4 separate regions of the Homo sapiens genome follow, and regions 2, 3 and 4 are each linked to region 1. Evidence: promoter capture Hi-C in 16 types of primary human blood cells and fetal thymus (Javierre and others, 2016). All regions are on one chromosome and are shown on one strand. The core of a region is centred on a gene start or on the middle of the fragment in contact, and the rest is flanking DNA. Distances in the headings are between cores, read along the strand shown. Region 1 holds the start of UMODL1-AS1 (UMODL1 antisense RNA 1). Region 2 has its middle 40 kb from the start of RSPH1. Region 3 has its middle 24 kb from the start of RIPK4. Region 4 overlaps PRDM15 (PR/SET domain 15).

What was found. The method cuts DNA at HindIII sites, captures the fragments that hold promoters and counts their contacts. A CHiCAGO score of 5 or more calls a contact.
Region 2: a fragment that was not itself captured here is called in contact with the fragment with the promoter of UMODL1-AS1 in region 1 in 1 of 17 cell types (M0 macrophages); the score reaches 5.2 in M0 macrophages.
Region 3: a contact is called between a fragment that was not itself captured here and the fragment with the promoter of UMODL1-AS1 in region 1, in 3 of 17 cell types (erythroblasts, monocytes and endothelial precursors). The highest score is 6.1, in erythroblasts.
Region 4: a contact is called between a fragment that was not itself captured here and the fragment with the promoter of UMODL1-AS1 in region 1, in 1 of 17 cell types (total CD8 T cells). The highest score is 5.7, in total CD8 T cells.

What each region holds. Positions count from the first base shown.
Region 1 is chr21:42,105,175-42,111,651 of GRCh38, reverse strand. It overlaps UMODL1-AS1 (UMODL1 antisense RNA 1), which reads left to right and starts at 3,118. Exons shown (of 2, transcript NR_027243.1): 1 at 3,118-3,356. It overlaps UMODL1 (uromodulin like 1), which reads right to left. Exons shown (of 23, transcript NM_001004416.3): 10 at 1,953-2,090; 11 at 531-772; 12 at 1-146. RefSeq lists a silencer at 3,579-3,873 and an enhancer at 3,850-3,969. The HindIII fragment of the contact is 14,881 bases long and covers 1-4,265 here.
Region 2 is chr21:42,453,261-42,459,737 of GRCh38, reverse strand. No RefSeq gene overlaps it. Among named protein-coding and RNA genes, the nearest start is that of RSPH1, 40 kb to the left of the region's middle. The HindIII fragment of the contact is 1,374 bases long and covers 3,128-4,501 here.
Region 3 is chr21:41,787,879-41,794,355 of GRCh38, reverse strand. No RefSeq gene overlaps it. Among named protein-coding and RNA genes, the nearest start is that of RIPK4, 24 kb to the right of the region's middle. The HindIII fragment of the contact is 5,101 bases long and covers 268-5,368 here.
Region 4 is chr21:41,830,650-41,837,126 of GRCh38, reverse strand. PRDM15 (PR/SET domain 15) reads left to right here. Exons shown (of 24, transcript NM_001040424.3): 9 at 478-659; 10 at 920-1,014; 11 at 1,603-1,690. Among named protein-coding and RNA genes, the nearest start is that of PRDM15, 45 kb to the left of the region's middle. RefSeq lists enhancers at 156-863, 2,679-2,798, 3,579-3,648. The HindIII fragment of the contact is 3,368 bases long and covers 3,016-6,383 here.

The DNA.
Region 1 (6,477 bases), core at 1,869-4,368:
GAGGGTCCACTGTCCTCATTTCGCAGCCACGTGGGATTCAGAAGTGTTTCCCGGGTGGAACGGGTGGCATGCCACAGGAAGTGGCCGGTGGGGTCCTCAGTAGGGGAAGGCCAGGAGGGTGGCTCCATGATGGAGTTTCCCTGTAGCTGTCCAGGGAGGGCCAGTGGGCCATCTGTGGCCCCAGGAGGGAAGCTGTGGGTTGACCCAGTAGCCTTCGGGGAGGAGGTGGTGCCTATCACCCCGATAGTGTTCCTATGGCTGGGGCTCGCCTGGCTGGTGCTCCCCTGGCTGGGGCTCTCCTGGCTGGGGCTCCCCTGGCTGGGGCTCCCCTGGCTGGAGTTCGCGTGGCTGGTGCTCCGCTGGCTGGGGTTCACCTGGCTGGGGCTCCCCTGGCTGGTGCTCCTCTGGCTGGGGCTCGCCTGGCTGGTACTCTCCTGTCTGAGGCTCCCCTGGCTGGGGCTCCCCTGGCTGGGGTTCACCTGGCTGGGGCTCCCCTGGTCCATCCCCAGACCCGGGGCAGTGCTGGGCACCTCCTGCTCCACGCCTTTTCCTGTGTTGTTCCTGTCATACCCGACCACATTGCTGCCCCCTCTTCTGGGTGAGGGCTCTGGGGTCCAGGCCTGGCCTGCTGCCGGGGTGCCCTGAGGGTACCCAGGACTGGGTGACAAGGTGAAGTTCTCTAGGCCGAGGGCTGCTGTTCCCGTGCCAAGACCTGGGACCGTTACCCCTGTTGCCGCAGACAGTCCACCGCCCATGGGGCTCACCAGGTCACCTGCCAAGACACATCCACTGTCAGAGCCTGCTGGATCCCACCCACGAGTAAGAGCCCTCCCAGGAGGGCAGCATGGCCGTCCAGCAGGACTGCTCTGCATCCCGGAGTGGACCTGGCCAGGGACGCAGGCGGGCGCCAGCGTTCAGGAGTGTTTCCTGGGCCCATGTTTGCAGCCTCCCCGGGGCTCTCTGAAGGCAAATCACGCCTCTCCACTGGATAAATGAGGAAACTGAAGTTGAGGGTGAGGGATCCACCCGGGGGGCTACAAAACCCGGGCTTGAATGCAGGGCTTGGTTCTCATAGGCCTCAGATTAATCCATCAGGACTCTGGGAAAATGGGACAATTTCCCCCAGATTTGTGCTCAATGTGGGACTTGGTGCTGGATGCTGTCATCGACTTGCAGGACATTAGGCGAATGAGAAAAACAGAAGACAAGGTGTGGGATGTTAGGAAGCAGGACAGCACACGCAGTGTCTAAGGAATATTCTCCCCAGGGAACTGGTCTCGGCTGCTCCTTCCAGCTAGAAAGCCCTCAGCAGGGGCTGGCAAGCCAGTGGCTGGGCGCCTCTGCCACGCCTGTGTCCGGGCCGACATTGCTAATCAGTCACTGCATTTTAGGTCCCTACGTGGCCTCCTCCTGCTGCTCAATTCAGCATCCCAGGTATCCCCGACCCACTCATCAGAACTGGTCCACAGAAAAGACTGGGGGCCGATACAGCAGGACTAGAGCTCAGCGGCCCCCATCGGGCCTCTCTGCAGCTTCTCTGGGCTTCCACACTGTCTCGGGCTCCAGGCCACACCCTCTCGGGCTCCAGGCCACTGGGGAAGGAATCCCTCGACCCCGGGCTGCATCCTGACTTCTGTGGGCCCAAGGAACTTGGCCTTCATGGACCCCTGCACCCCTCCACTTAACAATCTATCAAAAATTACATTTTATAATGGCATTTAGATAGAGATGAGTGTAATCCAAGCTAGATTCATTGTTTTATGTATATTTACTATCCTTCTATTAATTTCTTTCTTCTGATTTTAAAATAAATTGAAATGAAAACATTTCTGTAGGCCCCTAACATTACCATAGGTCCTCAGCCCTGTGCCTATGGAGAATTGGGCTTTGCCCCACCCCCAGATTCTCGGGCAGGGGGTCTTCCCAGAGTCGGCAGGGGGGTCGACACGTACCCTCACAGGCCCGGCCTGCGCGGGAGGGGGTGGCGTCCCTGGTGGTACGGCACTGGCAGGTGTAGGAGCCCTCCAGGTTGATGCACCAGGCAGCCGGTGAGCAGTCGTGTTCCGCGCTGTCCACACACTCGTCCCAGTCTGCCAGGGGGAGACACAATCAAAACCCATGAGAAAACAGCCAAAGAGTGATCAGAAGACAGACCCATGCTGGAAGGAGTCCTTCCTAGCCGTCTTTGCAGTGAACGGCCGGGAGCAGGGGCATTTTGGGGCATCCGTCCAACACTCTCATGACAACCTTACGGCCTGCCTGTGCCCACCTTCACATTGGTTGGCTTATTTGGGGGCAAAGATTAGGAAATGTTCATTCCTTAAATATTAGCACCCATGGGTGTGCATGTAGCCCTCTCTTCTTTATTCTGTTTCCACACCCAAAACTTGAAATGTTTTCTCCTCTCTCTTTGATGTGCCAACATTCTCCAATACTTAGTGTCTCAACCAAGAAATAGGAAAGTAACTGAGCCAGGGGTGGGGACACAGCTGAGTATAACGTGAACTTTCCGCATGGGGGGTGGGGGTCCAGCGGAGTATAACACCAGCTTTCCACGCCGGGGGTGGGGGTCCAGCGGAGTATAACACCAGCTTTCCACGCCGGGGGTGGGGGCCAGTGGAGTATAACATGAGCTTTCCACACCGGGGGTGGGGGTCCAGCTGAGCATAACACCAGCTTTACATGCCAGGAGTGGGGGTCAGCCTGAGTATAACATGGACTTCTCTCGTGGGGGGGGTGGGGGTCAGCCTGAGTACAACATGAACTTCCCACGCCGGGGGTGGGGTCCAGCGGAGTACAACATGAACTTCCCGCGCCATATTCTAGAGCACCCGGGTGTCTCCACAGGTATGTCCCTCCTCCTGTGCCCAAAGACTTGTGATGTCATGTCACCGGGGGGCCCGCCTGAGGGGAATGAAGGTGAGGACAAGGACAATGTAGCTCCCATGGGGTGGCTGAGCCGAGGTCGTCAGGGCCAGGCCCTGCTGGAGGTGACAGTGCCTTCTGCGCGTGCTTCTGTAGAGCTGCGGGTGGAGGTGCTCGGGAACGAACCCACACCCGGCATGCCAGAGAAGTTCCAATTCAGGTGGAATTTAAGCCACGATGCAGGACCAGTTCAGTTCTGGGCAAAGAAAACCCTGCTGCTGAGTGCTCTGAGGCTCGTTTTGTGGGTTTTTTTCTGTTGTGCTTCCTGCGGTCTCCACAGAAGCAGCTTCCCTGGAGAACAGCAAGCTCGTCAGCTGCCACAACAGCTATGCCACCACCCTAGCATGGCCTGGGGGCTGCCTTGCCATCAGAACACTGCTGGTGCCAACCCACACCTCTTCCTGGGGTGCTACTCAACCTCCAGCCTACAGGTAACTCTCCTGGGGGTGCTCCGGGTTGGGGTTGGAGCCTAGGCTGGCTGGGCTGCAGTCCACGGAGGACAGCAGAGGCACCAGGCAAGACGCTGGCTCAAACCACCAAGCACCTGATGTCTATTTTGGGGCGTGGTGATTCACCTAATCTTCACTCCTCCGTCCCCCCAGACAGCTCCCAAGCGAGCTCAGAGGAAGGCGCTGACAGCTGTATTTAGTCTTGCATTAAGCCTTGAGGCTTGCCGGCCCTCCAGTTCAGAGGAAGAGGCAGGTGTGGGAGCAGGAAGAGCTGCCAGTGAGCCTCTGCACCCTCCCGGGCTGGCCAGGCGAGGGCGCAGAGCCAGCGAGAGCCCAGGGCAGGACGCTGCACACTGCTCCCACTGGCCCCGCAGCTGGGACAAGGGCTGAGCCCTCTCCTGGAGCAATGGGGGCAGCTGCTTCAGAGACTCCCAGCCCAGGTGCCCCTCCTGAGCTGGCCCCACCCAGAACAACAAGCTGGAGAGGGTCCAGGAGCAGGTACAGACCCCAGATCTCCTGGGCCACCCTGTCCCAGCAAGGTGCAGGCTCCTCAGTTGGACCATGAGCTGTCTTTCAGGGCCCAGGGCGTCCTCCAGAAGTGATGCCCCTCGGACTCTCCTGGGGGCGTGTGTCAGATTCACACTGGGAGAAAGAGGGCACAGAGCACCTCATCCTAATGCCACCGCAAATGGACGCTGGACAAATAGCGGTACCCGTGAACCTAAGGAAAGGAAGCAGCCTGCAGTAGGTTAGCCTGGCCAGCAGGTGAGGGGGATGGTGACAGCCCTAGGCCAGGATCCTCACTCACGGCCCTTCTCTCACTCTGCAGAGGGGATGGAAAGGGCTCGCGCAGTGGCGAGGCGGGTGGGAGCAGGCAGCAAACTGGAAGCTTTGGGGAGCTCAGCTCCACCTACTCTGGCCCCAGGAAAAGCGGCGTTGATTCCAGAGCCCCAGAAGACCCACAAGGCCTCTTACGCAGAAGGATGCCGGTGGGAGTCCTGCTCCTCTGGCTAAGGTCGGTGCAGAGGGTTCACAGCGGTGCCTCATAGAAGCCCAGTGATGACCCTCACTCTAGAACAAATGCACACTGTATGAGAATCTCTCCTGAGAGCAGATGTTGGGAAAGAGAAGGAATAGGGGCCGTGCTGTTAGGAGCAAGAGATTGAATGGAAATGATGTGAGGGGTTCAAAAAGGAGCCCCGTGAGGCGGAAGGACCAGTGGGAACCCAGGGGTTGCTAGGAGACCTTCCTAGATGAGCTCTCATCCAAGATATGAAAGTTAATCCTGGAAGAGTTAGCCCTGAACGCTGGAGGGGCCATCAGAAATGCACTGTCGCCATGCACAGGCACTGGGCTAAACCCACACAGGCATTGTGCCTTAATTTACTCCATCGCCATAGGAGGTGGGATGTTGCTGTAATCTCATTCCACAGATGAGTATACTGAGGCCCAGGGAGAGGAAGTCATTTGTGCAGCATCCCACAGTGAGTGAGTGTCAGAGCTGGGATTCCAACCCGTTCCGCCTCACTCTAACCTCTTCCTATGGGGCAAAGTGAGCAGGAGGTTTGGCCGCCGCTGTGAGGGTGCAACTCATAGGCGCGGGGGGCGGCTCAGCCTCCAGGCCTCCCAGCACATGGTACGTACCTCCTGGGGAAAGACCGAACACATGGCCACCTACACAGCCCACCGTGACTGGCGCAGGAAACCCCAGGCCCCGGGATGGACGGCCTAAGGGTAAAGATAAGGTCACGACAACCTGACCCCTCCACGGGCGAACAGCGCCTCATCTATCGGGGTTGGGACATGTGGACGCACCGGCAGGGAGTGCTCCTGAATGACTGAGGAATGCTCTAGTTGTGCCAACAACATTATTTCTAGGTGGACCACAGCGCAAATACCTTTTCTTCTTCAGAGGAGCTCTTTTTGTGTTTTCGTTTCTTGTTTTTTTTGCCGAGTAATATCAAATGTCTTCTTCTACAGATCCTCGCCGTGAAGGTGGGGCTCTCAGCGGGGGTGGATGTCCCCCTGTAAGCTGGGCTCAGGCCTCGTGCTGCCTCCCCAGGCAGGGGCGGTGCCCCATGGTTGCTCCCCCGACTCTGGCGTCCGAAGACACCAGTAGTCATGGAGTCAAAAGAGTGCAGAGGCAGGGCCGCCTCCCCGGCCATGCACGGCCTGAGGCGTCACCATCACTGGCCACACAGCTGACCCCCCAGCTCAGGAGACCTGCCCGCACCAGCACCTCAGCTCTGAAATGTGGAGGAAGCAGGCCACAGCCTGCCCGGGACCCTGCCGGGCAAGAGCCTGCAGAAGGAGCTTAATAACTTCTGCAGGACCACTGAACAGCGTGGGGAGTGGGGTGCTGCGAATGCTTACAATGGATTCATCCAGTCCTAGAGGTGCAAGACACGGGTCTCCTGTGGCTGCCATCACAAACACACCAGCTGGGGGGCCTGAAACAGCACAGATGTATTCCCGCCGTTCCGGAGGCGAAGTCCAAACTCCAGGTGTCAGCAGGGCCGCCCTCCCTCTGGGGCTCTAGGAAAGGGGCTTTCCCAGGCCTCTTCCAGTGTCTTATCTTGTGGCTCCAGGAGTCCTTTGGCTTGTGGCTGCATCACTCCAATCTTGGCCTCTGTGTCTGTGTCTCCTCCTCTTGTCTCGTATAAGAACACTTGTCACTGAACTTCAGGCCAACCCAAATCCAACGGCAGGAGGACCTCATCTTGACATCCTTAACTTAATCGTGTCTGCAAACACCCTTATTCTAAATAAGGTCACATTCTGAAGTTCCAGGTGAACATATCTTTTTGGAGGGGGCCACCATTCTACCCACGACATCCCTGCTGCCGAGGTTCTCATTTGGCAGGGATCTGGAATCGCCTGAGCCCTAGTCCCAGAGGATGGGAGGAGGGAGGCAGGGAGGTGTGGAGGGCGGGCTGGGTGGCATCCACCTGAAGGCTGGATCCGCCTGAAGGTTGGATCACGGGGTCACACACTGAGGACCCTGCTGGGGGCATACCCTGTGGACCCCAACCTCAGGCCCTACCCTGCAGCCCAGCTAGGTGGGATCTTACCAGGTACAGGGGCCACTGTAGTATCCCCATCC
Region 2 (6,477 bases), core at 2,565-5,064, 350 kb before region 1:
ACCTCCACGTGGGAAGCCCCTACCTGGTAGTTATTGGTGCTGCATGGTTAAATCCACTCAGTTTCATTTTATCCACTTGCAATCCAGAACACAGCTGCTGCGTAAGATAAATTTATTTGAAAACAATTTTCTAGAACTTGGATTTGTAAGAGTATGTAAAACAGAGTGTGGAAGGCCAGGTTTCACTAACGCAGGCCTCCATAACAACTGCTTCAGTACTGACCGAGTAGTTAAGTTAAATATTAAAAGCTAAGAAAAGCCAGTGCCCCTATACAAAGGCTGAAATGTAACAAAAGCCCACCAAGGGTTTTGCCCAGGCCTTTCCTGGGCCTTAACGCATGACAAAATAATGAAAGAATTCTTAACAGGACCCATTTAGGATTAAACAAGTTTTACTGGGGTTAAAAAACTCCCCAGGCTTCCACAAACAAGTTTATTGGAAGTCTGAAGGAACTCCCCAGACCTCCAAGATTTAGCAGAAGTCAAGATAAGGGTAATCACCCCAGCACCTGGACTCATTTAGATAAGTAAATTTACTGAGGCTGCAGAGGAAGGTCTTCAGGACTCAGACATTAGTTACAGATTAAAATAAGTTAATCACTTAAGTCTTCAGATGAATGCACACTTACATGTAGACATAGAGCTTAGAAGGTATACAAGCTCTGGAAAACTTTGTAATTTTGAGTTGGTCTAGTGATAATTTCCAGGCCTTCTCCCTGTAACTGGTTTCAGAAATAAAAACTCTCCTCCTCCCCAGTTCATCTGCATCTCATTATTGGGCCACAAGAAATAGCTGCCCGACACTCAGCCTGGTCCGGGAACAAGAGTACACTGCATTCCCGGATTTTACTGCTTTTTGCAAATACAATAAAAAGGAGTGCCCACAAAATTAGAAACTTTGACAGATTAGAGGCTATATTAATATCATAAAGAGTGTTATAACTAGGTTATATTAGTTTTACCACCACAATAAAAACAACTATTGAAATAGAATGATACACAACTAAACTCTGGGGATTATTTTATTCACTTTTAATATGACCACAGTTTATGGAATGGGGACTATGATCAAACACTGCGTATGGAGTCAGGCTTGGGCAGGAGTGGGGGTGGCTATGTGGAAGGAGCATGGAGTAGTAAACTCATGTTGCATCCCTGCAACGTCATGGCAAGATATGTATGTGAGTAAATAATAATACAGCAGCCAGGTGTGGTGGCTCATGCCTGTAATCCCAGCACTTTGGGAGGCCAAGTTGGGTGGATCAGGAGGTCAGGAGATTGAGACCATCCTGGCTAACATGGTGAAACCCCGTCTCTACTAAAAATACAAAAAATTAGCCGGGTGTGGTGGTGGGTGCCTGTAGTCCCAGCTACTCGGGAGGCTGAGGCAGGAGAATGGTGTGAACCTGGGAGGCGGAGCTTGCAGTAAGCGGAGATCATGCCACTGCACTCCAGCCTGGGCAACAGAGTGAGACTCCATCTTTAATAATAATAATAATAATAATAATAATAATAATACAGCGCAGAATGAAGAGAGGTATGTGGAAGAGGGACTGGAAGGGGGTTGGTGGCTAAGGGACGGAGGAACCAACCTGAGCTCATGTAATTACAACCCTAGACTGCCTGTGCCACTTCGAAATCTGGCTCCTGTGTTGTGCGAACATGGTAAGAGTGTCGCTTTCAACCAACGCCCCAAAATGTAGACAACTCAGAAATTAACAGAATCATCCAAATACCCTAACCATCATAAAGATATATGTAAAGTGCTCTATCAGTTGCCATTGGCTATGGGTTCAGGGAACACTGGCCTCTCTGTGCCTCACCCGGTGGGTGTGACAAGAGCTGGCCCTCCGTGGGGCCCACGGGAAGCCCTTGGGCATTGGTACCAGTAGCCTAATATCCCAATCTAATTAAAAAATTAAAAACATGTTATATCAGCTTTCTTGAAGTATATTTTGTAGACAGTAAAACATCCATTTTAAGTGAACAGTTCAATGAGTTTGGACAAATGTAGGCAACCATGTGACCACCTAATATGGTTTGGCTGTGTCCCCACCCAAATCTCATCTTGAATTGTAGCTCCCATAATTCCCACATGTTGGGGAGGGACCTGGTGGGAGATAAGTGAATTGTGGGGGCAGTTTTCCCCATACTGTTCTCGTGGTAGTGAATGAGGCTTGCAAGATCTGATGATTTTTATAAGGGGCTTCTGCTTTCGCTTGGCTCTCATTCTCTGTCTTGCCTGCTGCCATGTATGATGTGCCTTTCGTCTTCTGCCATAATTATAAGGCCTCCCCAGCCATGTGGAACTGTGAGTCCATTAAACCTCTTTCCTTTATAAATTGTCCAGTCTCAGGTATGTCTTTATTAGCAGCGTGAGAACAGACTAATATACCACCCTACAATCAGCACACAGATTCCCGTCAGCCTGAAAATATCTTCGTGCCCATTTGCAATCCATTCCCCTACTCCCAGCATTAAGCGTCTGATGTGCTGCTTTCTGTCACCACAGATTGGATTTGTCTCTAAATAGTTGTATATAAATTGAATCATGCAGTACATCCTCTTTTGCTTCTGGTTTCTTTATGCTACTATAAGTGATGTTTTTATTTTACTTACTGATTGTTCACTGCTAACATAACATTTGTATTCCGCCTCTGTCCCCCTCTCTGCTGTCTTCTCTTCACCTCACGTATTGGCAGAGGAGGTGTTACGTGTTCACTGGCTTATTAGTCCATTGCTCACCACCTTCCACTGAAATATAAGCTCTTTGAGAGTGAGCTTGTATCTGATCCACTGCTGCTTTCCCAGCAGTGTTAATGGCACCCAAACATTCCCTCATAAATGTCTGTTGAGTGGATGACTGAGGCGCCGGACTCCACACTTGAGGGCTGAGGTGAGGAAGGACGAACTCTTCCCAGTGCTGAGCCTGAGGAGGGAGTGTGGGCTGAGGAGGGGGCGTGGGCTGAGGAGGGAGCGTGGGCTGTGGAAGGGCAGACAAGACGGTGAGCTCATGGGTCTCATTGGCGGTCAGGAGAGGGTCCTCTGTAACAGAGGCCTCCAACCCCTGTTGGGAACCAGGCTGCACAACAGGAGATGAGCAGTGGGTGGATGAGTAAGTGAAGCTTCGTCTGTATCTACAGCCACTCCCCATTGCTCTCATTACTGCCTGAGCTCCGCTTCCTGTCAGATGAGTGGTGGCATTAGTCTCATAGGACTGTGAACGCTACTGTGAACTGTGCATGTGAGGGATCTGGGTTGTGAGCTCCTTATGAGAATCTAATGCTTGATTATCTGTCACTGTCTCCCATCACCCCCAGATGGGACTGTCTAGTTGCAGGAAAACAAGCTCAGGGCTCCCACTGATTCTACATTATGGTGAGTTGTATAATTATTTTATTATATATTACAACGTGATAATAGAAATAAAGTGTGCACAATAAATGTAATTGCACTTGAATCATCTCAAAACCATTCCCCACCCCCACCCCACCCTGGTTTGTGGAAAAATTTTCTTCCACGACACTTGTCCCTGGTGCCAAAAGGCTGGGAACTGCTGCTCTACAAGAGGGCCAGCTGCTGCTGGGCTGTGAAACCCACTGAAAAGAAGGACAAATACCAGGTTTTTGGTAATGGGAGGACATTACCAGGGCAGAAATGCCCAATGTGAAGCTCAACTGCACATGTGAATTTGACTGGACTGCAGGGTGCAAAGACGTTTTGACCCAGTGTCACTCTGGGGGTGTGTGAGGAGGTTTCTGAATGAGACGAACATTCGAATCAGGAGACTGTCAAGCAAACGGCCCTCCCCAGGGTGGGTGGGCCTCATCCAATCAGTTGAAGGTCTGAATGGAACAAAAGGCTAAGAGGAAACTCCTCATGTCTGACGGCCTTTGAACTGAGGCATTGGCTTTTTCCTGCCATTGGACTTGAATGAAAACATCGATTCTCTCTGGGTCTCGAGCCTACTGGCCTCCAGACGGGAGGCCAACAGCTCCCGCAGATCGTGGGGCTTCTCAGCTTCTGTAAGAGTGTGAGCCAATGCCCCTCTCTCCTTCCCTCTCCCAGCCTGTATCTGTATGTTTGTATCCGTATGGATGTGGGTCCTGTTTCCCACTGGCTGTTTCTCTGGAGAACTCTGGTTCCTGCCCTCTGTTTTGTTGTTTGTGGCTCTAAGTCACGGTATGTTAAAGTTCAGGTTTAAGAGGATGCGGGCTGCCATGTCTAAACATGTGGGCATAAGTACAAAAATCCTTACGTCATCAGATTGTGTTTCATCATATGGGCTAATTTCTTTCCTCAGGCTAAGCTGCAAGTTCTTGTCTGGAGTCGAAGGACCAATAATATCGCCTTCACCTGCCCCCTCCTGGTCCACTCACCAGGATGCCAGGCGGGACTTTTGCACCACCCTGACTGTGAGGCAATGCCCTGGGGATCCTGCTAAGACACAGCTGCTGACACGGAGACGGGGGTGCCTGAGGCCCTGCATTTGTAACAAGCTTCCAGGCAATGCCTGTAATCCTGGTCCTCGGTCCAGAGTTTGAGAAGCAAAAAAATAAATAATTTATAGGGCCCCTTGCCTCTCCTCAAAGTCTGGTTATATTTTCTAGATAATAAGTGCTATCAGTACCTCGCAAGGAGAACAAAATGGCTCAAGGATAGCTGGAGGCAAAGAAAGTGCAGTGTGTCTTCCAAAATCACTAACTCAAATAAACGGGCTGCCTCTCCGGGGAGGCTCCTGGGAGGAGAGTGTGCCTTCGGTGAGCTCATTCGCAGGCGTTTCTCCTTCGGGATTTACGTTGCTTTCGTGCTATAGCTTCTTTGGAAAATTGCTTGGTTTATTGTCCTAACACAGTTTTGTCTCACTATGGGACACAATGAAAGAGAATGAGTTAATGGTTGAAAGAAATACATTTTGGAGAGAGAAGGAGAAACATGACATTTCCAGATGATTAATTTTTTAATGACTTCTTGGAGAACTTTGTTTGAAGACTTCACCAGGAAGATTGCATGTATACATGTGTGTTTCTTAATCCATTTTTGTGGCCTTAAGTCCTAGGAAAAAATGGTACTGGACAGCCGGAAGTGGCATTTACTTGGAACCACACAGGAAGAAGTACATCATAATTCTGGGAGTTTGCTGTGGCAATTTGCAAAGGCCTTTCACACAGCTGGACCCCTCTCACTTTTCATGAAGAACCCCCCACGCGCCGGCAGACAGCGGCTGCACACACATTCAGGAGATTGCAGGAAATAATTTCCAACAGCAAATGAGACATTAGTTATTCAATGCTGATAAACAACAGCAGCGCTTCATCCGAAGGAATTCCACTGGGATCTGAGTTAAAGCTCAGTTCCGTCCTCTACTCATGGTGACCTCGGACAGAGTCTCTGTGCCTCGGGCCCACCGTTGTAAAATCATGTGGCCTGTCGATGGGTCCACGTCACTTGCAGCATCTTAGTCCTCATTCTGGAGGACACGATGTGCCCTCTTAGCAGTGAGCCCTGGAGGGGCTGACTCGCAGCCGTGTTTACCTATTCCTGTGGTCCAAATGCTCCTGCCAGGGCTGATTCAATTACATCTCTAGCAGTGAACTTCAGCTGGATGGACTGACCTTCCAACCCTGAACTTCAAGGTGAGTGTGTGAAGCATGCCGGCTGTGTCTTGCCTTGGGAGAGTAGGTGGCTCACCCCGGGCGGCTGAGGCGATGAGGCAGGGAGGAGCAGGAGTGGGAACATCTGGTTGGATAGCAGGGCTGGAGAGAGGCGAGAGCTTGGGGGCTCTCTTCAGGTGTGCTCCAGGTGCCAGAGTCGCTGCTGGCCAAGGATCCCGGAAGAGACACAGCTCGGGATGAATCCCTGGAACCAAAAGTCTGTCCAGTGCTCCGCAGGGAGCAGACAGCGTTCCACTTAGTGCCCCTGGCCTGGCTCCACCCACCCGTCTTTCCTAGACCCAGGGACTTGGCCTCCTCTCTCTCCTGACCCCGCCTGCACATGGGCCTCAGCCCTTCTGTCCTTCCATCCTCTGTAGAGAGAATGTTGTTTCCTTTTACAGGAAGAGGCACTGGCCTGAAGCGCACAGCTGTGATGATCCCAGCAGGTCTGTGCAGCAGCTCAGCTGGCCTCTCCCTGCAAACTAACGTTCGTGCCTGCTGCAGGGGTGGGCTGGGGTGGCTCATATCAGCTCAAGAGAGCTGAGTTTTAAATTTTCACGCAGTCTGCAAATCAATTGTCAAAACACTGGCAGCCCAGAATCAGCCCTGGTGCATTTACATCATGGAAACTGGAAAACACAGCAGACACTGCGAGTCAGCCCCTCCAGGGCTCACTGCTAAGAGGGCACGTGTCCTCCAGAATGAGGACTAAGATGCTGCAAGTGACATGGACCCATCGACAGGCCGCATGATTTTACAGCAGTGAGCCCGAGACACAGAGACTGTGTCTGAGGTCACCATGAGTAGAGGACCGAACTGGGCT
Region 3 (6,477 bases), core at 1,569-4,068, 320 kb after region 1:
AGGACGGACAAGGTAGCCAGAGTTCTCAGGGCAGGGTATGGGGGAGGAGAGGGCTGTGCAGAGACAGCGCCAGAGCTCAACAGAGGACCCCATGACTCTCAGCTGAGTACGGACAAGCACGCATGTGAGGAAGTGACCTGTTCCCAGCATGCAGAGAGAAAAAATTCTCTAATTTAGGGAAATTTGGGCAGAGTTCTCAGAAGCATTTTGCCTAAAAATGAGGAGAAATGACCCCTAAACCTTACTCTGGTCCCACTGAACAAAGCTTCATAGCAAAACGTGGAAAAGATCAAAGTGTTTCCAAGACGCTTCACTGAATCCCAGAACAATGCTCAAGGATATTTTATAGAGATACAAGAACACCTCACACCCAGCAATGCAAAATCAGGACAGCACCCAATCAAAAATGACCACGCATGCAAAGAATCAGGAAAATACAACTCATGATAAGGAGCAAAATTAACCCATCAAATCTTCTTGGAAATGACAGAATTGGTAGACAAAGATAAGAGAAATTATGACTGTTTTTCAGATGTTCTAAAAGCTAGAGGAATAATTAAATAATTAAACCTGTTAAAGGCATGAAAGATGTAGTTTTTTAAAAACAAAATGAATTGAACTTCCAGAGATGAAAATTTCAGTGATGACATGACAAACATACTGGATAGTATTCACAGCAGGTCAGATATTGCAGAAGAAAAGATCAGTGAAGCTAGGGCAATAAAAAAAAAACTATTCAAAATAAAATGCACAGAAAAAGAAGAGGGAGAAAATGAACAGAGCATCAGCGAGCTTTGAGATAACTTCAAGCAGCCTAATATATGTTATTAGAGTTTTTGAAGAGTCCTTGGAAGAAAAGGGAAAGAGATGGAAAAAAATATCTGAAGAAATAGTGAAGCCGGGTGCAGTGGCTCATGCCTGTAATCCCAGCACTTTGGGAGGCCGAGGCGGGCGGATCACGAGGTCAAGAGATCGAGACCATCCTGGCCAACATGGTAAAACCCTGTCTCTACTAAAAATACAAAAGTTATCCCGGTGTGGTGGTGCACGCCTGTAGTCCCAGCTACTCGGGAGGCTGAGGCAGGAGAATTGCTTGAACCCGGGAGGTGGAGGTGGCAGTGAGCCGAGATCGCGCCACTGCACTCCAGCCTGGGCAACAGAGCCAGACTCTGTCTCAAAAAAAAAAAAAAAGAATGAGCAAAATGTTGTCAAATTTGCCGAAAGCCATAAAACTACATATCTGAGAAGCTCAGTGATCACCAAGCACAAGAATCATGAAGAAAACTATGTTAAGGCATTTACTAATCAAATTGCTGAAAACCAGTAATAAGGACAAAAACCCGGAAGAATCCAGAGGAAAGACATATCACATACAGAGGAACAAAGATAATGATGACACGTCAAATTCACATCAAGGAGATGCAAGCCAGAAGACACTGGAGCAACATAGGGAAAGCATTGAAAGCAACTGTCAGGATAAATTCTATACCCAGCAAAAATATCTTTCAAAAAAGAAGGCCAAATAAAGGGGTTTAGATAATAATCCTGAAAGACACAACCCTGAACACAATATTCCCGAATGTTGAAATCTCAGAAGATCAAAATCCCTAAAGGGTAAAATCCTGAAAATCACAATCATAGCATAGTTGCATCATGTTAAGTAAAACTATCAGCTTATTGTCTTTATTTGGAAATTAAGTATGGTCAAATGAGATACCTATGTGTGCCAAGTTGACCAGGGTTGGCACATGTGGACTGAATTTTAGATGTCAACTTACCTGGATTGAAGAATACCTAGAAACCTGGTAAAGTATTCTTTCGGGTGTGTCTGTGAGTCTCCTGGGGAAATTATTGTGCAAGTCTGAGTGGACGAGGTGAGCAAGATCTGCCCTCAATGCTGGCAGGCACCATCCAATCAGCTGGGGTGCCCGAGAGAACAAATACAGAAGGCAAGTTGGTCTATCTCTGAGAGCTTGGACAGACGTTTCTTCTGCTGCCTTGGACATCAGAAAATGTTGAAACTTCCTCAGTAAATGAAGAGATGTTCTTTTTGTACATTTGCATTTGTGAAAGATAAAATTTATCCAGATTTCGGCTCTTTGGGCAACTACATGCAGTGGTGACCCGTCGGGGGTTTTGATTGATCTTGTTGAAAGACACTTTGTTCGTTTGGTATTTCAGATGACCACAGTTAGAAAGCTGGGTGTGCGCAATTACCGATAGTGACATGTGTTTTTACCTTTCCGTTTTGACCTATTTCTTTATGAATGTGGTTCATCTGGCCAGGCGCAGTGGCTCACGCCTGTAATCCCAGCACTTTGGGAGGCTGAGGCGGGCAGATCACCTGAGGCCAGGAGTTCAAGACCAGCCTGGCCAACATGACGAAACCTCGTCTCTACTAAAAGTACAAAAATTAGCCAGGCGTGGTGGCATGTGCCTGTAATTCCAGCTACTCAGGAGGCTCAGGCAGGAGAATTGCTTGAACCCAGAAGGCAGAGATTGCAGTGAGCTGAGATCGCACCATTGCACTCCAGCCTGGGCAACAAGAGCGAGACTCCATCTCAAAAAAAAAAGAATGTGGTTCATCTGCTCATAACCTGTGCGACTGTCATTAGTTTACCTGAGTGTTTACGCTTGCAAAGTATATGTTATTATTATCACCTATTTTGTTGTATAAAGTGGTCTATGAAGTGTGCAGTCCTGTTTTGATATGTTTCTGAACTGCAATATCTTTTAAATGTTTTTAAAAATTATTTTTTCCAGAATTATATTTTCAGGATTTTGATCTTTTGGGGTTGTGATTTTCAGGTTTGATCTTCTGGGATTTCAGCGTTTGGGGTTATGGTGTTTGGGATTGTGTTTTTGGGGATTATAATCAGCTCCCCAATTAAAGACTTTTCCAGACACACAAGGCTGAAGGAGTTCAGTGTCAGTAGCCTGCAGTGCGAGTTCTCTTTAAGGAAGTCTTCCACGCAGAGCGAAGGTGATAGCAGGTGGGAATCTGGACCTGTCCAAGGACACAGAGAACAATGGAAATGGTAACAATGTGGGTAGATTCAAATACTTTATTATCTTATCAGTTAAATATATTTAAAAGTCAAGCAAAAGTAAAGATGATGTATTATGGGACTTATAATATAGAGACCTATAAAATGTACGAGAGGCCATGTGTGATGGCTCACACTTGTAATACCAGCATTTTGGGAGGCTGAGGCAGGAGGATCACTTGAGGCCAGGAGTTTGAAACCAGGCTGGGCAACATAGTGAGACCCTATTTCCACAAAAAAAAATAAAACAAACAAAAAAAATAGCTGGTGTGTAGTATGTGCCTGTAGTTCCAGCTATTCAGGAGGCTGAGGTGGGAGGATCACTTGAACCTGGCAGATCAAGGCTGCAGTAGGCGATGATTGTGCCACTGCACTCCAGCCTCTCCCATCCCTACCCCATTCCCTAGCCCCCGATCCCTCCCCCATTTCCTAGCCTCCCCATCCCTCCCCAATTCTCTAGTCTCCCCATCCCTCCCCATTCCCTCCCCTCCCCCATCCCTCCCCCATTCCCTAGCCTCCCTGATCCCTCCCCATTCCCTAGCCTCCCCCATCCCTCCCCGATTCCCTACCCTCCCTGATCCCTCCCCCATTCCCTACCCTCCCCCATTCCCTAGCCTCCCTGATCCCTCCCCAATTCCCTACCCTCCCCAATCCCTCCCCCATTCCCTCCCCTCCCCATCCCTCCCCCATTCCCTAGCCTCCCTGATCCCTCCCCATTCCCTACCCTCCCCAATCCCTCCCCCATTCCCTAGCCTCAGGCAATCACCATCTGCTCTCTACCTCTATAATTTTGTCATTTCAAGAATGTTATATAAAATGGAATCATACATTCTATAACTTTAAAAAATATGGTATATTTGTCTATCAAGGTATTATTCTTTACATGTTAACCATGCTTTTTTTTTTTTTTTTTTTTCTGAGACAGTCTCACTCCATTGCCCAAGCTGGAGTGCAGTGGCACAATGCTGGCTCACTGCAACCTCCACCTCCCAGCTTCAAGCGATTCTCCTGCCTCAGCCTCCCGAGTAGCTAGGATTACAAGTGCGTGCCACCACACCGGCTGATTTGTGTATTTTCAGGAGAGACTGGGTCTCACCATGTTGGCTAGCCTGGTCTCGAACTTCTGACCTCAGGTGATCCGTCCACCTTGGCCTCCCAAAACCATGATTTTTTAATGGAAACTTTTATTGAGATAGCAGATCACATAAAACCAACTTTTACTGAGATAGTAGATTCACATACAGTTATCGAAAATCATTCAGAGAGATCTCTTATACTTTGTCTGGTTTCCCCCAGCGGTAACAGTTTGAAAAACTATTGTACTAGATCACAGTTAGATTTGACTTTGATATAATCCACTGGTCTTATTCAGATTTCATTTATACCCTGTGTGTGTGTTTGTGTGTGTATTAGATTCTATACAATGCTGGTGTATCATTGTGTTGGTCTGTTTATCTGCCCCACGTCAAGATACCAAATGTATCACTTTTTGAGATTGGTTTTTCCTTTTTTTCTTTTGTGTTTGTTTTTGAGACAGAGTCTCCCTCTGTCACCCAGGCTGGAGTGCAGTGGCTCAATCTCAGCTCACTGCAACCTCCACCTCCCGGGTTCAAGCGATTCTCCTGCCTCAGCCTCCTGAGTAGCTGGGATTACAGGTGTGCGCCACCATGCCCGTCTAATTTTGTATTTTTTTAGTAGAGACTGGGTTTCACCATGTTGGCCAGGGTGGTCTCAATCTTCTGACCTTGTGATTTTCCACTCAGCATCTCCACCCTGGAGATGCTCCCAAGTTGCTGGGTGTGTCAACAGTTCATTCCTTTTCATTGCTGAGACCATTATGCGGGTACACTATGGTTTATTTAGGCAGTAGCCCATTGAAGGACAATTTTGGGTTGTTTCCAGTTTGCAGCTATTCTGAATCAAAGTTGCTATGAATATTTGTGTGAATATTTTTGTGTACATGAGTTTTCATTTCTCTGGAATAAATGCCCAGGAGTCAGATTACAGAATTGAAGATCAGTGTATAGGTTTCTGGGGAATAATTGTGGAACTGCCTTATAACCAATGTTAAATCATTTAAAATGTGGTTTGTATTTTCCATGTAACTAGTATTGTGTAGTACGGGTTGTACAAATTATTCATGCTGTATTCTAAGAGAAAAATTTAACAATTAAGATCATAATTTGGAGAGATAAGAGAAAGAATTTGCCCAGTTCGGATGAACCATGGGGAGAAAAGGCTCCCAACATCTTTTACTGTTAACCATGTTTTTTCTGGGTCTAGGTGTTGTTGGAAGACATACTTCCTTAGCCATCAAAGCTTTGAAGCTTCAAACCAATAGCTGAAAGTGTTCTATCCAGTTTGAATTATCACTTGAAATTTTCAAGTCTTCATGAGCCTCGAAAATCCTCATCTCCAATGATTCACTCTTATTAATAAGATCACTAATGAATTCTTCAACTTTGTTCATTAAGTTATATTTGTTGTCCCTTTTCAGCAAATGGTAAAACATGATTATTCAAGCCTTTTAATTCTCCATGCTACCTTAATGATTAATGGAATGTAACTGTCCAGTAGAAAATGGTTCTTTATGACAAGTGATCTTTATTATGCTCGATGATTACATAATGGAAATAGCAAATGAAAAAGGCATTTATCTGACATCATTATGTAAATCTCATGTCTAAAATTGTAGTACATTCTGATGCCCCCTGGGTACATGTTGGCATTTAAATATAGAAGCTAGCGGTGTATTACTGTGCCTTATTTGGTTTTAAACAATCATATTCCCTGGACTGTCCCCATACATCCCAACCATTCCTATATAACCTTCTGGTGCCCAGCTTGGGACAGTCTATTAGAGAGGCTTGATAGATAAAATTAAAAAACAGTGGAAACTCCCAGTAAATACCACAGTGAAAAAAATACCCATGTCACATGCTCTAAGTATCTTCGTATCTTAGTCTCCCAAGCTAAGATCTTTTTACTGCAGGTGGTTCTCCACTTGGTAGATTGGACACTGATTTGTTTAGTGTCCAGAGCTTTAGAAACAGAGCTAAAATGTGTTCCTAGATTTTCAGTTACTATATGGGTCTTGAAAGCATCAGTAAAAATATAAAATTGAAAAGAATTCTATTCAAATATCCAGCTCATCAATTTAGGATAAGAGGAATAGCCCGATGTGCTATACTCAGTCATTCTACTAACATCGGCTCAGTCACCCCCTGAAATAATTGTTATCTCATTATTAGATGATTTAGGTTTCTCAATAAAAAGAATTCATTGTCAGTAAAACTGAATCATTCATTACTATTAGTTTTTTGAGGGAGAGTCTGACTTATGTCACTCAGACTGGAGTGCAGTGGTGCGATCACGGCTCACTGCAGCCTCAACTTCCTGGGTTTGGGTGATTCTCTTACCTCAGATTCCC
Region 4 (6,477 bases), core at 3,450-5,949, 280 kb after region 1:
AGTAATATCAGAAATGATGTTACCTGTTTATTTATTTATACTTTATCTTATTGCCCAGAAGAGTTCAGGTGGCTTACCATCAAAAATACATTTAACAGGGAAAAGAAGTTTTGAAAATCAGGTTCAGATAATATGTAAAACAGAGAAGAGTTAAGACAGAGTGACAGGAGCAGAAAACAGGTGTGGTTATTCTAATTGAGGCACAAATTGACCTCCAGGCTTTCTGGTGGCCAGAGTTAGAACAGAGTCAGGTGTGTGGCTGTTGCAGCTAAAGCTGCCTAATGTCATTATATATTCAAGGTGTCCCTTTCAGATGCCCTGGAAGCTGGGAGTGACGCCCGGGCGCATTCCCTCCTTTCTCGCATACAGGCTCGGGATTAGCTGGGAAGTTTTGGAAGGAGGCCGTTTTCATGCTGCTTGTAACCTGGAACTTTTTTCCCACCTGTCTTTTCCCAACTTATTGACGTCCCTGGGCAGGTTCACCCATCATCAGAATAACACCATCACGCTCAAGAGGAGCTTAATTCTCTCAAGCAGACACGGCATCCGGCGCAAGCTCATCAAACAGCTCGGGGAGCACAAGCGGGTTTACCAGTGCAATATCTGCAGCAAGATCTTCCAGAACAGCAGCAACCTGAGCAGGCACGTGCGCTCGCATGGTGAGTCCGCGAGGCCCGGCTGGCGCCCGGGGCCAGGGCCAGGACTGGGGCTGGGGGTGGGAGGACAGCACGGAGTCTCCCCTCCTTGGGTCGTCTCCCACGAGCTGCGCCAGTGAGAGGCTGCATTTGTGGGCGATCATCTCTGCAGCTCCTTCGCATGGTGGGAGCGAGGCGGCTTGTGGGGCATTTCCCCGGTGGGCATGCTTCTCTCGGTAAATGCTCTAAGTAGTGAATGAGCTCTCTGTTGGTTGGTTCCTCAGGTGACAAGCTGTTTAAGTGCGAAGAGTGTGCAAAATTGTTCAGCCGCAAAGAGAGCCTAAAGCAGCACGTTTCCTACAAGCACAGCAGGAACGAGGTGGGTGGAAACAAGCCCAGGGTTCTCTTCCCAGTTGTGTGGACAACACAGACAACTGACCAAATCACCATGTTGTAATGAGAAGAAAGAATCCCAGGAGGGAGGAGAGTGGGCGGGGGCTGTGGGGGAGGGAGGAGAGTGGGCGGGGGCTGTGGGGGAGGGAGGAGAGCGGCCAAACCCTGTGGGGGAGGGAGGAGAGTGGGCGAGGGCTGTGGGTGCCCAGGTGTCCCTGAGAAGGGAGAGTCCCAGGAGGGATGAGAGCGGGTGAAGGCTGTGGGTGTCCTGGCGTCCCTGGGCCACCTGTCAGCCCCTCGTCCTGGTCAGATGCCCACAAGCGCAGCAGGAAGAGTCAGGAGAATGGGGGTGTTTGGTGCTTGGAGTGGGGCTCCCTGAGTGTGGAGTTCCCTTTCTAGGGCAGGTGAACAGCAAGAGCAAACATCCTTTGTGTTCCTAAATAGAGCGGGAGGGTGGTGGAGGTCAGAGTCATAACAGACACAGGCGTGGAGTCGCCCGGGCAGCACGTCGGGGGCTCGGCATCTGTGGACTCTGCGCTGGGCCATCTCACTCACGGCGTGTCCCTCTGACCAGGTGGACGGCGAGTACAGGTACCGCTGCGGCACTTGTGAGAAGACCTTCCGCATCGAGAGCGCGCTGGAGTTCCACAACTGCAGGACAGGTGAGGGCGCCGGTCACGTCTCCCCTCGGCCGCTGTGCGGTACGGATTCTAGATACGCCGCGGAGACCGTGGAACTTTAGGCCAAAGTAAAGATTGTTTTCATGAATAGACAGCCTCACTTTTAACATTTCCCTCTGTCCATTTTGCTTCAAAGCAGTTGTTACCCTAAAGATACACAGATGGAAACTTTCCAGTAAAAAGGGATTGATTTTCTTCCTGCATTTGTCAGCCGAGCTGCGTATGGCCCCACACTGAGAGCATTGTAAAGCCGGGGTCCGTTCTGGCTAAAAACAGGGAGCAGCAGTGTCCAATGTTTTCTAGGGCCGTCTGAGGAAGAAAGGAAAAGATCAGGATAATGGCTGGAGGAGTGTGAGCGCTCCTCGCTTGCTTGCAAAGGTTGTTCCTAACCGCGAGCCCTCCTCCATCCACATCTCCTGCGGCGTCCAGGGTGGAACGGGGTTGCCCCTGCACGCATTCTTTTTGTTCTGAGCCTGCTTGTGTGCACCAGCTTCCAAAAATAAAGCATTTTCCTTGTGTGAGGCCTGAAGCCGGGTGTGCCTGGACCAGCCTGTAGTGGAGAGGTGGCCTCTTCGGGCCTGGGGGGCGTCTGAGGCCCCTGTCTCTCTGGCCGAATTTGCTGCTGGCAAGTAAACAGACCAAAGGAAAGCCAAGGCCGTCCTGCCGGCTGCGCTTCTCCACGTGGCCCGAGGACGCCCCTGTATTCTGCAGTGATGACGTGCACCCTCTGGGATGTGGGAGTCACACCTTCCCCATTCCCAGTGGTGGGTGGCACTGGAGGCCCAAGCAGTGGGGGTCCCCAGCGGGGCACAGAGGGGTGAGTCACTGTTGCCTTTGTGTCCCCCTCTCTCTAGGACTCATAGCACACCCTGGAGAGGGGGGGCCCGGCGGCAGTCGGCTTAGAGACCTACCAGGTTAGCCTTCGACGCCCACCCCGTCCTTGTCCGCCTGCTCTGTGTCTGTCACTTGCATCTCTGTGTTGTTCTTGTTAAGGTGCCACCCGCCCCTGTGTTGAGAACAGGGCACCTGCAGCAGCGGACTCCCAGGGGCTCTGACCAGGGCTGTCGCACATGGGCCATGTGAGAGGCCCTGCTCCCTTGCCGTAGCTGCTGGGCGCGGGGGGCCCTTGGTGGGGTTGGCTAGTTCTACTCTGAGGGCTCCTATTTGAAACCAGGGTTTGGTTCTTCCTCCCTGATGCCTTCTTCCTGGGGTTGGACTGTTCTGAGGGGCAGGAATGAGTCATGTTTTGCCTAAGCTTTAGCAGCTCTGAAGGATCCATGTCTGGCATGAGGTGGCCTCCAGAAGCTTCTGGATGAATTTCCAGTGTGCCGCACCTCCTGCATTTTAAGCCCTCCTATCACAAGAATTCCCAAGAAACCTGGGGCACAGTCCCCTGAAGACTTCCACTTAACGCAGCCCCGGCCAGACAGATGAACCTTCATCTTGTTTGCGAACCTCCCCTTGGGGTCCCCGCAGTCCTGCAGGAGTGTAGCAGGCGAGGGTTTCGGGGTTCCCAAGAGTGATGCTACCAGCTAAGGCGCTCTGGTGAGGCAGACTCAAGGTTGAGGAAGAGGCATTGCCCTCTGATATTTTCAACTATTTCTCTGGACCCAAATAAAACAAAGTACTAGAAGCGGCTAAGGCAGCAGCAGCTTCCTGTCAGCCAGAGGTGCTGTTAGGCCAGGTGCTGGCCTTTGTTAGTCACCTAGAACCCGCAGAGCGCCAGGGACCTGCATCGCACCACCTCTTCCCCTGAGATGTTCTAGTTTCAAAGGTTACCCGTTTTAGACTGAACAGAAAGGATAAAAACCTTGAAATGGAGCTTGTTTGCATAATATATGATTTGCATGCTCTTATACTTATTTATAGTATTGAAGTTAAGAGAATGTGTATCTTCCTTAGACAATTAAACCAAGAATTTGTACCAAGAATTAAACCAAGAATGTGGGAGTCACGCCTTCCCCATTCCCAGTGGTGGGTGGCACTGGAGGCCCAAGCAGTGGGGGTCCCCAGCGGGGCACAGAGGGATGGGTCACTGTTGCCTTTGTGTCACCCTCTCTCGAGGACTCATAGCACACCCTGGAGAGGGGTGTGGGGGGCAGTTTTAAAATGTTACAGTCTTGTGGGTTTTTCTGAAGCTCCCTCCATGGGACCTGTTGTGGTGCCTGTCCCTTGTGGTGTGACCAGGTGCTGGTGTAACTCATCTTCGTGTTCCTTGTGCTGTGTCTGACCATAAGTACTGTGCTACGGAATAGCAAAGGCTCACGTCCAGGCCCTCAGGCAAAATGCGGCCCACCAGCCTCCCCCAATAATCCCCTCTCCATCCCCAGGTGCCCTGCACCCCTCTCCCTTCGTCAGACCCCAGTAGGCAGCTGTTCTCAGTGGCTCATTTATTCAGACATAAACCTAGATCCCCTCGGCGCAGGGTTATTGGAGGGAGAAGCATTGTTGGGACCCAGTGCCCCTGTGGGTTCCTGAACTGGCAGTGAGTGGGTGGCTGCGGGAGAAGCCACCCTCGGCTTGGCAGAGTTGTCCGGGACAGCTGGGGAGTGGCCTGAAGTAGGTTCTCTTTCCATGGTCACGAGGGGCTTGTGAGGGAGAAAGCTGAAGCTCTTGGCAGCACCATTGCCTTCCACGGGGCGGCAGGACTAGTGGAGCCACCTGCCCAGGAGGGGGTGCTCATGGGTGCTGATTTGCACCTGCCTGGGAGGGGGGCTCACTTGTATTGGTTGGTACCTGCCTGGGAAGGAGGCTCACCTGTGCTCTTTAGCACCTGCCCGGGAGGGAGGCTCACCTGTGCTCTTTAGTGCCTGGCTGGGAGGGAGGCTCACCTATGCTGTTCAGGAGGCCCAGGTTGAGGGGAGTGTGGCAATCCAATGCCACAGCACTGTAAAGGTGTGGCCTATGGTGATCCGTTGCCACAGCACTGTAAAGGTGTGGCCTGTGGTGATCTGATGCCACAGTGCTGTAAGGTGTGGCCTGTGGTGATCCGATGCCACAGCGCTGTAAGGTGTGGCCTCTGGTGATCTGATGCCACAGTGCTGTAAAGGTGTGGCCTGTGGTGATCCGATGCCACAGTGCTGTAAGGTGTGGCCTGTGGCAATCTGATGCCACAGCGCTGTAAGGTGTGGCCTTTCACAAAGCGCTTGGCTCTAGTGGTCCCATTCCTAAGAATTCATGATAAAGAGATTTGACAGAAGAAAAAAATCTGCATTACTAAAGATTCCATCACTAAATTATCTACAGTGTCAAAAATAGCAAAGTGAGTTTTGAGAAGTGAGCTGGATGGAATATCACGTAGCCATTAAAGTGATCATGAAAACGTCCAGCACTGTAAACACGCACGCCTCAGACGCAGTGTGTGAAGGACACATACCATGCGGTCGTGTGGATCCGGACAGAGCCCATCAAATCTTAAGCCAAAACGAAACTGAGGGCAGTGGCTGTATGGATAATGTTTCACTTTATAGAAGGAAGGCAAGCAGTATGTTAGGCTGGGACTCAGCGTAGCATCTGTCACGGTGCTCCTCTTATGGCCCAGGTGAGGCTGGCTCTGGGCTGAGGTCACGCTGCAGGTGGGGTGGGATGTGGGCAGAGAAGCCTCGCACAGGGCCACCTCTACTGTGTTCAGCCCTGGCAGAGGCCACCTCCCACTGTCCTGCCGTGGTTGGAGCTGTGGGAGGGGACTGTCCCCTCCCAGCGCTTCCCCTGTCCTGAGGGTGGCACCCATGGGGCATAGATTTCCCCACTGCTGTCTCCTGTCTTCGCTGTCGGCCATGCCTTGTCCATTCCCAGCTGGGAGGAGTTGAGAGCGCCTGGCTCTCCCGGGGGAGGTTGTCTGCTTCCCTCACCCCCAACCTGGGCTGCACATTGGGATCACCTGAGTGAGGCCAGACACATGCGGAGGCCCAAGGCCCACCCCAGAGAGTCTCATTTTGTGAGCCCTGGCCAGTGAATCTCTACCTGGCGGGGGTGGAGAGTGGAGGGCGTTTGCCCCAAGGGACGCTGTCGGCAATGTCTGCAGACACCTTGGTGGGGAGGGGTGCTCCTGGCACCTACTGGGTGGAAGCCCGGTATCTGCTCAGCATCCCACGGTGCACAGGGTGGCCCACAACAAAGGATCTGGCCCAAAACGCTGAGGCAGGGAAACCCTAGACAGGGGGACCCTGAGACACTCTGTGGCGGCTCCCTCGGGCAGCAGAGAGGGACAGGCGCAGGGCGGCTGCTTTGCACAAATGGCAGCTTTCAGTGCAGTTTTGGGGATTTGTATATTTGGCAAACACTGAGCCTGGGAGCTGGTCCATGGGTGAGAGCCCAGGGGCCCAGAAGTGCAGTCTGCTCTGGTGCCCCGCTCCTGGGTCACCCAGCTGTCATGTCCTCCCACGTTGGCGACACAGGGAGGAGAATGCAGCTCTGCTGGGCCCCGGGGTCGCCGTCAACTGGTGAGACATCTGATGGATGGGGGCAGGGCGAGGGGACCTGGGGCTGCTGCTGCAGGGTGAGGGACTGGGCAGTGAGGACCCCCGAGGTGCCTGTGTGAGAGTCAGAGGGACAGATGGCACTGGGGGGCTGTCAGTGTCCTGGGCGGAGCCGAAACCACAGTTTGACTGGCTACCTTCCAGGAGGGGCTGGAGATGAGGTCTGGGATGCAGGGATATAGGTGTTTCTGGAAGCTTCATGGACTGTGTGTGGCTGTGTGTTTCTGTGGTGTGTGGATGTATTTGTGTGGTATGTGGATGTATTTGTGTGGTGTGTGTTTAGTATTTGTG